Regions from separate parts of the Homo sapiens genome. Here all the other regions are linked to region 3. The links are contacts of gene promoters, found by promoter capture Hi-C in human tissues and cell types (Jung and others, 2019). All regions are on one chromosome and are shown on one strand. Each heading gives the region's core, a stretch centred on a gene start or on the middle of the fragment in contact. The rest is flanking DNA. Distances are from core to core; before and after follow the strand shown.

Region 1 (2,865 bases), core at 356-2,855, 620 kb before region 3:
CCTTGTGATTTCTTCCTAGTTTCCAAATGGGAACAATCTCCCCCGTCAGAAGGTTTTCAGGTTTGGGAGCCAAATAAATACGGTATTTTTCAGACGTATGGACACACTTTACACAACTGGAGAGTCCTTTTAAATCCCTTATATCCTTATTTAATCAAATTGCTGTTCTGCAGGTCCCTGTCTGTCACTGTGGATTATGGAGACTTCATTGGTCTCAAGGATGTTTTTCTCTTTTTTAATTAGCTCCCTTTTTTCCTGCTTAAGGTTTTTTGGGTTTTGGAGGGAGGGGTAGTGAAGGGAGGGAAGTAGAGAAGGAAGAAGACAAGTCAGGAGACTGTCCCCATGCAGGGCCTATCCCCTCCCCTGCCTGTAACTTGGGTGATGCCCAAGGTAGAGCCAGCCACTTCCTTCTTCTTATGCGTATTTATTACCTTGCTCTTCTTTAATCAACGCCAGTCTGGCTTATATAATCTAACTTTTTTTTTTTAGTGCAAGACGCATCACATGAAGTCTCATTTGTCCTCAAACTTTTTGTAAGAAAAGTATCTTTCTCTTTAAGTATAATGTATATGTTCTGTTAAACTCAAGCACATTTGATTCTTTTTTCCCTAATTTGCCACTCTCTGCAAGGCGAGGCTTGCCTACCTCAGTGGGAGGTTTACTACGGGACTTAGGTGTCAGACCTGGCTTCAAACTCTAGGCTCTGCTGCTTACTTTGTAGCCGGAGAACCATAGTTTATCTTCTCTGTGCCTCAGTTTCTTCACCAGAAATGCAGATAATAATCCTTAGTCCCCAGTGTTGCAGGGAAGAGGACGTAGAATACTTGGTTCCAATGCTCAATGTCTCTTTCTTCAAAGCATTTTTGCATTCTGGTTATCTACAATCCTTTCTTGTAGAGACAAATCCAAAACTGTTTCTACAAAGTGTAAGGCCACCAAGCGTATACTACTTTTCAGCCTCTCAAGCACCTATTTTTCCTCACTTTCCCTGGGCAGGCGCTAGCTTCTCCCTATTGCCTGTGGAGTCCTAGCTGCAGTGTTATCAGAAAGTATGACACTAATCAAGACAATTCAGTGAGGAAAGAGAGAAGACAGCACTAACCAAGGGGAAGTGGGGAGAAATGGTGGATGGAGAAACAGAAAACTGACCAGGCTTCTACACTTTGCCATCTATGCAGAGCTCAGTCACTGTGATGCTACCTTTGAGGGGACACACACCACCCAGACTGTGCCAATGCCTAGAAACGTGAACCAGCTAAGAATAAGTTACCATGGATTGATATGGTCTATCAGGTGACAAGAACTTTATAATCGGTCACCCGTTGCAACATTTATTATTGTTACTATCATCCTTTGCATTTTAGAGGTGGGAAATGGAGGCAAGAGATTTCAGTACATGTCTGTTGGCACCTAAGGCTGTGTGTTCTCTTCACTTTGCTGCTCTGCCTCTCCTGCTACGAGCAACATAACCAAATCCCTCCTACTTGGTCAGGATGACTGCTCACTAGCTTAGGCCCTCTCAACCTTCCTGGGTGGCTGTCCTTTAGCCAAAACATTCAAGAGCAATTTTCACATACCCAGGAAATTCAAGCCCATTACTTCTTGGTCAAAGAGGTAAAGACTGCAATCGACCTGGCAGACCTCAGACCAAGCAATCATGCGCTTTAAGGCAATTGCAGAAATGGAAACAATCTCAGCTAATAGACTTACAAACTGTCGCTCTTTTCCTTTTCTTCTGCCGGTCCCCCCCACCACCCTGTCTCTCTCTCTTCCTCTTTCTCTCTCTCTCCTTCTGTCTGTGTCTCATTTGTCACAGTTCTCTTACCTTTCCCTTCATCAACTTTCCCCACAATATATTCTGCTTTTTCCAAGTTCTTTTCTTTCTCCTTGAAACATTAATAACTTACCATGAATCCAGTTAGAGAAAGTGTATCTCGCATACTTCCACTTTTAATTCTCTGACACTTTTCTTATTAAAATGACACCATGAAAACATCAATCCAAAACAACAAAAATAAGGCAAAAAGAGACCACCAACCTCGCTGGAAATGCTACTTCGAGCCTCACTCTGCTGCTAGACTGATGTATCACTTGATGTTTCCTCATTTTATTCTTATTGTTTCCTAAAGCAATAACAATTGTCTACAGAAACACCTCGGATCCTGCTGGCAAAACCCAAACATAAGTGAAGCATTAAAAATACCGCCCCCCACCCCTGAATCAGAAATCATCTAATGAACCCCATCAGAAGGGTGGAGGGCGGGGTGGGGGTGGCAGGGGTAGATGGGAATGACAGTCGAGAGAGACAGACAGACAGACAGACATTTTACAAATCTCCAGGCTTCATTTTCTTTTACTTCTCATTTTCTATTCACATCATGATTTCCCCTGGAATATATCACCAGGATTTTATGGTGGCCTCATGTTCTCTTTTTTTCCCTCTTCCCTTCTGTTCACTTAATGTTTGTTTTTACTGATTTGGGCTCTGAAAGCATGGCTTATTTATCATGGATTTGAAAGCCTCCATCTTCTTGCTCTGTTTTCGCCAGGGCTGTGACATGGTTCACAAATGCTGCAAATACGCTCAGCGCCCCTCTCCTTTTCCTCACTGCCTGTGCCCTGGGCTACCTTAATTCTCATCTGGGCAAAACACAAAAGTGTCAGCAGAGGACGGCATGACCACAATTACTTTAATCTTGCTGTCACTTTTACTTACGCTCCCAAGCCCTCATTTGTTGTTGGAATGCTGGTCATTTTTTCAGCTCACTGATCTCAAAGCTTGCAAAAGTGATCATCTATCCATAGAGAAGCTCCCCTTGCTTCATTCGATAAGTCTATCCCAGAAAAGTGGGAGGGCCTGACATT
Region 2 (2,781 bases), core at 172-2,671, 680 kb before region 3:
TATTGAAAGTTCAAATGTAGTGGGGCATCCTACATTTGATCTGGAAGCTGCCCAGGACTCCCACCCAAAGGCATAAAGATTAAAGTCTTCCACCTGTTCCACAGTGGACTGGCCTCACCAGCCACCCTGGAAACAGCCCCTCCTTCCAACTCTCAAGCAGGACACATATGCTAAGTAGGAGCCCTTTCCTGAGCTGCCGAGTCAGGTGACCTGCTGTGCCAAGGCGCCCAGCACAGGGCCAGGCACACAGTAGGTCCTCAATATACCCCGTCCCCCATTCATTCCAGGCAGCTGGGGCCTAGTACCCGGCCCAGGAGAGGCTGTGACTGTGAGGGCGCCAGCTCAGCTTTGACTATGGGAGGAGAGGGGTGGTCCAAGGAGCAGCATGGCAGAGGTGGGACCGGGAAGGTCACCGCCACCCACTCCCTGAAGTTGTTTTGACGATCACATGAGAAAGCGGCTCGGGATATGTTCTGGGCAGCACGTAGGTTATCATCAAGACCTTTGAGTGGTGCATTTTAACCACAGGGCCTCGGCCCCCAGTCTTCCCTGGGGAGGAAGGCTGGACAGGGAAGTTTCAGAAGTACAGAGCAGAGCCAGTGCCTCTGAACGCTGGAATACCGACGGCTGACATCTGTCCAGCACCTTGTAATTTGCCAAACACGTTCCCAGCCATTCGCTCTACAGGCCTCACTGCAGCCCCAGGAAGTAGGGGCGGGTTGGGGCCCATTTTCCAGAGGGTGCTCAGGGCGGCCTGCCCCGGGCCCTGCCTGGGAGGTGGGGCCCGGTCCAGGGGACTGGGGCCGAGGTCCCAGCGGTGTGGGGGCGAAGGCGGGGGCCTACCTTCTGGGCCTGTTGGATCATCTGCCTGACCACCTGCTTGAGGTGCGGCGCCTTCTCGTCCTTGGGCGGGTGGGTGAAGAGCGTGACCCGGCTCACGCCGCGGTAGAAACCAGTGTCCGTCCAGCCCAGGTCCAGAGGAGGCACCTCGGTGTCGGAACGGTCGGGCCAGTAGGCCAGGGACTCGCCGGACTCAGCCGGCGCCGGCGCGGGGGCCTTGGCCTTGGCCTTGCTCTTGCCCCGGGCGTTGGCGGCGGGGACGGCGTCCTCGTAGGGGCTCCAGGCGGCCCGCAGGGCCTGGCGCTCCGGGCTGGAGAGGAAGTCCCGCAGCTGCTCCTCCTTGAGCCGCTCGCGGTAGGCCTGCTCGCCGCCGCCCAGCAGCGCCTCCAGCGCGGCCCGCCGCCGCTCGCAGTAGTAGAAGGCGGCCTGCGCCTCGGTCACCTTCTCGTTCACGTGCGCCTCGTCCAGGCAGTTCAGCTGGGACTCGGCCATGGCGCCCCGGCCCCGGCCCCGGCCCTGGCCCCGGCCCCGCCGCGGTCCGAGGTCCCACAGCCGCACCTGGAGCCGCCGAGGGGCGGGGCGCCTCACCTGGCCGCGAGCTCTGCCCCGGCCCGTCCCGCCCCGCCCCGCCGTCGGGGAGCGGCCAATCCGCGCGGGCGTGGCCGTCGGGCGGGGAGGGGCCGCCGCCTCCGCCGGGCTCGCCGGGACCTCCGGGCGGCCTGGCGGACGCGGTCGGGCCCGGGCCTGCAGGGCCCACCAGCCGGGGCTAGAGTCCCTGAGGGGACGCCCCCAGGGGGCGGGGCCGTCGCAGACCCACGTGCGGGCTCCGGCCCCGACTCCTCCGCGGGGTAAAGGTTCGCTGTCCGGCCCTCGCTGCCATCCGCCCCCGCCGGCCGCGTCGCGGGTACGAGTTCATTTTCCGCGCACGTGGAGTCCGGAGCACGTGTTCTGGCCCAGTGGCCTCTGGGGCCGCCGAGCTGACCCCTTCCCCGTCGAGGGTCCGGTGTTGGTGGGGGGGCCTGCTGCAGGACGGGATTGTGACGGCTGAGGAGCGGGCAGGGGGTGTGCAAAAGCGAAATGCTAATGAGAGCTCGAGCTCCCCACCCTTGCGTCCCAGTTCTGAGATCAGAGCCCTTCTGGGCTGGGAGTCCAACACCTTCACTGTAAAACTTTCTTTTAAAAAATAGCTATCCAAACAGAAATGATGTAAAGAGCAGCAGTGGAATTCCCCCCGCCCCCACCTTAATTTGAAGTAGGGTGTGTGGTGTCTCTCCGTGTGTGTTTGGGCAAGATAGGCTGCCAGAGACATGATTACTATATTAGTGATTCAAAATGTATGTTTGAGCTCAAGGAAGGAAACCGCACGTGCGTGCACACCACACACACGCACACACACAGCAGCGGTGGCAGCAGCTCTGCTGTTTCCCATCGGATTAAATACAATCGTCTTAGTCATTAACATATTATGTTGTTCATGCACTGCTCTACAATTTGATTCTCCACATTCAAAATATTTTCAGATCATAACAACTAAAGGTTCACATTTCTCTCACTTTATAGCGCAGCATCTCAGAGCTGGAAGGAGCTTTTCAAGCTCCTCCAACCCCCTCATTTTACAGTTGAAGAAATTGAGGCCTAGCAACGTGTGCGTTGCCCAGGTCTCCCGTGAAAGAGGCAGAGCACGGGGACTGCAAGGTTTTCTGTCTTGGAGGTCTTTCGCTGACATCACGGCCGCCTTTACCCTTTCTCCTTTTCTTGTGAAACGACAGGTTATTGGGGACCTGGTTTTCACCCCAGGGGATTTGAAAAGGTCACTTACCATTTCTAGGCCTTCCTTTCATGCTCTGGAAAAAATGAGAGTTAGATTTTCAAATGTCTGCACATTATTGTTATTATTATTTTTTTTTTTACAATAATCAGTTCTGGCATCCTGTGTCAGCC
Region 3 (2,990 bases), core at 453-2,952:
GTTTCCTTACGGAATATTGTTTTTCTTTAAAAAGTGCTGTATTACATAATATACAGTATGTGCACCATATTACCTTTCTAAAAATCAAAAAATGCTCAATTTTGAAACATATGTGGCCCCCAGGATTTCTAATAATGGATTGAAGATCTATCACTTATGTCCTTCGGGAATGGTGTGAGGATTGAGATAATTTTTTTTTTTTTGAGCTGGATTGCACTGGCGCAATCTCAGCTCACTGCAAACTCCGTCTCCCGGGTTCAAACGATTCTCCCGCCTCAGCCTCCCAAGTAGCTGGGATTACAGACGCACACCATCGTGCCCCGCTAATTTTTGTATTTTTAATAGAGACGGGGTTTCGCCATGTTGCCCAGGCTGGTTTCGAACTCCTGACCTCAGGTGATCCGCCCGCCTCGGTCTCCCAAAGTGTTGGGATTACAGGCGTGAGCCACCGCGCCTGGCCGAGAGAATGCTTTTCAAACGACGGTGGGAGCAAAGGCCAGGCCCAGAATTAAAGAAGATGACAGGGTGGGACAGAGGAAGCAGGTGATATGAGAGCGTGTGCTCTGGCGCAGCCATGAGGCTGAAGTAGACGGTTAGGGGAGCGTCTTTGGTGGCCGCTGAAGTTGATGCTTAATTCCGAGGAAACAACGAGGCGGCCATGGAAAGTAACGAGATACTTGATTCTTAGAAAGATTTGTAGGGGGCCAGGCGCGGTGGCTCACACCTGTAATCCCAGCACTTTGGGAGGCCGAGGCGGGCGGATCACGAGATCAGGAGTTCAAGACCAGCCTGGCCAACATGGTGAAACACCGTCTCCACTAAAAATACAAAAAAAAAAAAAAAAAAAATTAGCCAGGCATGGTGGCGCATTCCTGTAATCCCAGCTACTCGGGAGGCTGAGGCAGGAGAACTGCTTGAACTGGGAACCGGTAGGCGGAGCTTGCAGTGAGCTGAGATCGCGCCACTGCGACAGAGCGAGACTCCGTCTCAAAAAAGAGATTTGTAAGGGACCAGCCTGGAAGCAGGGAATCGGTCAGGATCCGAGTCACCCTGGAGCCTAGGCAGAGATCAGCGAAAGCCCTCGCTGATGCATAGGTCTGGAAGGCGTGGGGCTCCGGGAGGCTGAGCAGCTGGACTCGGCATGACCAGAGGTCGTGAGGCCGTTCCGCAGGCTTGGGACGCTCCTGACCCTCAGAATCAAGCGCGGGCCACTGCATTAGCATGGGAGAAATGGCAGAGATAGGGCTTGAGGGAGGGATGCCCGAGATTAAAGGTATTAAAGGTAAATTGGTGTCGCCGCAAAACCAGCGTGGGAGCCAGGAAACGAGAGTTTCAGTCTTTCTTCGCTAATTCCAGAGATAGCTGCATATCACAGGAGGAGAAGCGACGCAGCCATTTTTCTTCGTTATTATCAAATTTGGCTGCTGCCGGACGCCGTAGATTTGTGGCTCACCCACCCTTAGCCCACCTCTCCGCGGCTTTTCACTAAGTTTGAACCCGACCCCTCGCCGTAGAGTGTGTAATTTCTGTCTCCGAAGCTGACGTCAACTTCTGAACGAAAGCTAGGAGCGGAAGAGCGTGCGTGGAAATGGCGCTCGGTACGTGCCCCCGACCTGTCGTCTGCCGCGGGGGCGCGCTCGCACGCCGGAAGGGGCGGGGCCAGATTTGGCTTTATATAGCGGACCCGTAAGGCCGACCGGCCTCTACCGGCGGGATTTGATGGCGTGATGGTATGTGTTGTAATGGCGGCCGTTTCATTGTCACCGGCGTCGGCACGGCTGAATCCGCGACGCATCGCCGCCATCCCGTCTTGGCCGGCGCCGGGGGTTTGCTTTAGGGGCACGGGCGACCCAGCGGGGACTTCAGTCTGGCCTATTTTCTGGAAAGTCGAGAGGCTTGTGAAGAGCGCTTGGAGGACTGGCTTTGGGCCTGCAGGTCGGCCAGAGAGAGGCCGTAAGGGTGGGAGCAGGCTTGGAGGCCCGGCGTTTTTAAAGCCATGAGTCATTTCTAAGTTTCGACCTCACCAATTCTATCATTAGTTGGGATTAGGGCCCATAACCTGCTTGTCTGGGTAGAAGGACCTTGGGTGGAGGTTCTCGGCGCCGTTCTCATTGGGAGGTAAAGAAGCTTGGGGGAGGGGAGTGTTGTGGAGTCCTCCTGAATATCTGGGGCCGCTGGTGCACTCCGAAGGCCTCTGGAGCTCGCAGAAACCACAGATGATGAACTTATTGACGGGCGGACAGAAACTGTGTGCTGATTGTCACGTTCTGATTTGGCTCTGCGGAGTTCTTTGGCCTGTGTGTATCAGTGTAATTAGTGTCCGGGCACCGGAGGCAGCCTATAGCTTAACATTGCTAGCTGCTACCCAGCGTTTGTCCCGGGAGTCCCTTTCTTTAGCGGTCAAAACCTTGCTAATTGGCATATAAAGCTGCCTGTTAAGCAGTTTTTAGTGCCACTACTTAGTGTATTTTTGTGTGGTTAGATAAAAAAAATGGGTCGTTTTCTTACAGGTTGAGAGGATTTGAAATAAGATTCAGCTTAAATTTTGTCGAATACAAAAGCATTCTTGACACGTGCGAGCCTGGAAGAGATAATGACCTTTTTATTCGGCTTGCTGGGTGTCTGGTCAGGATTCTTCAGTATTGCTGAGATTTGGAACTTAAGCAGCTGGGAACTAGAGAAGGGGGCACTGCTTTGGTTTGGGTGCTGACGGTGATTTTTTTCCCACCTAGTCTCACAGAAAGTTCTCCGCTCCCAGACATGGGTCCCTCGGCTTCCTGCCTCGGAAGCGCAGCAGCAGGCATCGTGGGAAGGTGAAGAGCTTCCCTAAGGATGACCCGTCCAAGCCGGTCCACCTCACAGCCTTCCTGGGATACAAGGCTGGCATGACTCACATCGTGCGGGAAGTCGACAGGCCGGGATCCAGTATGTACAGACATCCTAAAAGTTGGGGGAATAGGAGTGGAGGGGGAGGGAAATTGTAGAGATGG
Region 4 (3,120 bases), core at 70-2,569, 750 kb before region 3:
ATACTTTGCAACTCTTATTTTGTTTCCAAACTAGTTTACAAATCACACAAGGAAAGCTGCCTTATTACACTGAGCTCATTTTGGACCTCAAACAGTATTACCCAGATGAGAAATCACATATCCAGACCTGAAAACATACTCCTGGTTGCTCCTCAAAATCAAATCCATCCTGAAAGAAGGAAGATATTCCCCCTACGGAAATTCCAAAGAATATCTCATACTCTGGAAGCAACCCCTAAAGAATTCCTGATATTTTAAGAAAAGGCAAGACTTCCGCTTCCAGAAAAGGTGAAGTAACGAGAGCAATATTTATCCTCATACCTGAAACAACTAAGAAACTGGATGAAATATATAAAACAGTTTTTAAGATACTGGCCACAGGCAGCATGGGACAGTGATGTGATCCCTGAGACACGGCAAATGAAGAAGGTGGCCTATGACTGGCCTAGCTTGCTGCCTAGGGAAAGTTTCCCAGTCACAGAACAGGGAGGGAAACCCAGGGGGAACTCAGAGGAATACCTTTACTTGAGGAGCCAGAGCTAGATTCTGAAAAGGCCAAGGAATCAGAATTTGCAGCATACAGTAGTACCAAGAGAGAAAAGAGCTGCACAGAGAAAGAACTCCAGAGATCTGTAGGAGACCCTCTGAGTATTCAGCTGAGTTCAAAAACAGCACGTTTATGTGAGAAAACTGCCCTAAGCTGGGGAAATAACTACCCAAAATGATTAGAAGAAACAATCTTTGGAACTCACACGGGGCCAGGAATTGTGCCTAATCTCACCAGACAGAGTAAAAACCATCATTCGTGGGGCACTAAGTAGAAGACTCAGAAGATTCAGTTGCTTCAGTAGTGAAGAACATTAATCCAAAGTACTGTTCTGCTTCCATCTAACAGAGCTTAAAAGCAACACCCAAATGGATCAAACAGCGTCGATCCAGAACAAAGCTCAATAATATTTACAGAGATACACAAAGATCCACCATCCAATAATATAAAACTTACAAAGTTTAGCATCCAATAAAAATCACCAGACATGAACTGTATGCCAACAAATTAGAAAACCTAGATGAAATAGACAAATTCCTAGAAAGACACAAACTACCAAAACTGACTTTGTAAGAAACAGAAAATCTGAATAGGCCTATAATAAACTAAATTCATAATAAAAAAAATTCCTATAAAGCAAACCCCAGTGCCAGGAGAGGTGGCTGTAGTTGTAACGATTTGGGAGGACAAGGTGGGAGGGTTGCTTGACGCCAGGAGTTCAAGACCAGCCTGGGCAAAATAGCAAAACCCTACCTCCACAAAAACAAAATAATTAGCTGGGTGTGGTGGTACACACCTGTAGTCTTAGCTACTCAGAAGGCTGAGGCAGGACGATCACTTGAGCCTAGGAGTTCAAGGTTACAGTGGGCTAAGATCCACTCCAGCCTAGGCAACAGAGCTCACTGGGGAATTCTATCAAATATTTAAAGAAAAATTAATATCAATTATTTACAAACCCTCCCTCCACCCCCACCCTCCAAAAACGAAGGGAACACTTCCCAATTCATTCTATGAGACCAGTATTACCCTCATTAGAAAAAGACACAAGAAAAAACACACACATACAAAAACAATGCTATAGACCATTATCTCTTATGAACATAGATGTGAAAATCCTTAACAAAATATACTAGCAAGTTAAATATAGCAATCTATAAAAAAGGATTATAGGCTAGGTGCAGTGGCTCACGCCTGTAATCCCAGCACTTTGGAAGGCCGAGGTGGGCAGATCACCTGAGGTCAGGAGTTCAAGACCAGCCTGGCCAACATGGTGAAACCCTGTCTCTACTAAAAATACAAAAATTAGTCGGGTGTGGTGGCACATGCCTATAATCCCAGCTACTCGGGAGGCTGAGGCAGGAGAATTGCTTGAACCCAGGAGCCAGAGGTTGCAGTGAGCCGAGATCGTGCCACTACACTTCCACCTGGCGACAGAGTGAGACCCTGTCTCAAAAAGAAAAAAAAAAAAAAAAGGATTATACACCATCACCATGTGGGATTTATCCCAGGAATGCAAAGTTAGCTTAATATACAAAAATCAATGTAATATACCACATCAGTAGAATAAATAACAAAAACTAGATGATCATCTCAATAGAAGCAGCAAAAGCATTTAACAAAATTCAATACCCTTTCTTAATAAAAATGCACCCAAAACTAGGAGTAAAAAGGAACTTCCTTAACCCGATAAAGGCCATCTTAAAAAAAAAAAAATCAGCTAACATCATACTTAGTGGCAAATGACTGAAGATCATAGTGGTCCCCCTGAGACCAAAAACAAGATAAATATCCAGGCTTGCCACTTTTGGCCAACATTGTACTGGAGGACAATTAGGCAGAAAATGAAACAAAGAGCATCTAGACTTAAAAGGAAGAATTTAAACTATCCCTATTTGCAGATGACATGATCCTGTATAAAGAAAATCCTAAGGAATCCAATGAAAAACTATCACAACTAATAAATGAGTTCAGCAAGTTTTCAGGATACAAGATTAATGTATTAAAATCCATTGTATTTCTACATATTAGCAGTGAATAAACCAAAAATAAAATTGTGAAAACAATTATATGTAAACTAACATTGGGCTGGGTGCAGTGGCTCAGGCCTGTAATCACAGCACTTTGGGAGGCTGAGGCGGGAGGATCACTCGAGCCCAGGAGTTCGAGACCAACCTAGGCAACATAGCAAAACCCTGTCTCTACAAAAAATTAAAAAATTAGGCAGGCATGGTGCCGTGCAACTCTGGTCCTGGTTACTCAGGAGGTTGAAGCAGAAAGATCACTTGAGCCCAAGAGGTCAAGGCTGCAGTAAGCTGTGATCGTGCCACTGCACTCCAGCCTGGGTGACAGAGTGAGACCCTGTCTCAAAAACAAAAACGAAAAAAAAGAAAAAAAGAAAAAGAAAAAAGAAAAAAACCTAACATCAAAAAGAATAAACTCTTAGGAATAAATTTAACAAAAGAAGTGCAACACTTATACGCTGAAAACCATAAAACGTCGAAATAAATTAAAAATGATCTGAATAAATGGAAAAGCAGCAAATGTTCATAGAGCAACATTTTGTTTAAATGGCA

Evidence for each region. The method cuts DNA at HindIII sites, captures the fragments that hold promoters and counts their contacts. A contact is called where the count stands out against the background at its distance.
Region 1: a contact is called between a fragment that was not itself captured here and the fragment with the promoter of RPL3 in region 3, in 1 of the 25 tissues and cell types used here (spleen).
Region 2: the fragment with the promoter of FAM83F here is called in contact with the fragment with the promoter of RPL3 in region 3 in 2 of the 25 tissues and cell types used here (heart left ventricle and mesenchymal stem cells).
Region 4: a contact is called between a fragment that was not itself captured here and the fragment with the promoter of RPL3 in region 3, in 1 of the 25 tissues and cell types used here (lymphoblastoid cells).

What each region holds. Positions count from the first base shown.
Region 1 is chr22:39,935,604-39,938,468 of GRCh38, reverse strand. All of the region lies in intron 1 of GRAP2 (GRB2 related adaptor protein 2), which reads right to left. Among named protein-coding and RNA genes, the nearest start is that of TMA7B, 23 kb to the left of the region's middle. The HindIII fragment of the contact is 9,705 bases long and covers 1-2,865 here.
Region 2 is chr22:39,993,594-39,996,374 of GRCh38, reverse strand. It overlaps FAM83F (family with sequence similarity 83 member F), which reads right to left and starts at 1,421. Exons shown (of 5, transcript NM_138435.4): 1 at 844-1,421. The coding sequence starts at 1,332. It overlaps LOC124905155, which reads right to left. Exons shown (of 2, transcript XM_047441700.1): 2 at 1,607-2,027. The coding sequence ends at 1,607. RefSeq lists a silencer at 1,379-1,498 and an enhancer at 1,073-1,706. The HindIII fragment of the contact is 11,866 bases long and covers 1-2,781 here.
Region 3 is chr22:39,318,335-39,321,324 of GRCh38, reverse strand. RPL3 (ribosomal protein L3) reads left to right here and starts at 1,702. Exons shown (of 10, transcript NM_000967.4): 1 at 1,702-1,730; 2 at 2,733-2,925. The coding sequence starts at 1,728. It overlaps SNORD43 (small nucleolar RNA, C/D box 43), which reads left to right and starts at 2,212; the gene lies at 2,212-2,273. RefSeq lists enhancers at 45-933, 1,098-1,517, 934-1,823, 1,908-1,957, 1,824-2,713. The HindIII fragment of the contact is 19,716 bases long and covers 1-2,700 here.
Region 4 is chr22:40,063,513-40,066,632 of GRCh38, reverse strand. It overlaps a transcript of TNRC6B not described here. Among named protein-coding and RNA genes, the nearest start is that of TNRC6B-DT, 21 kb to the right of the region's middle. The HindIII fragment of the contact is 3,031 bases long and covers 1-2,834 here.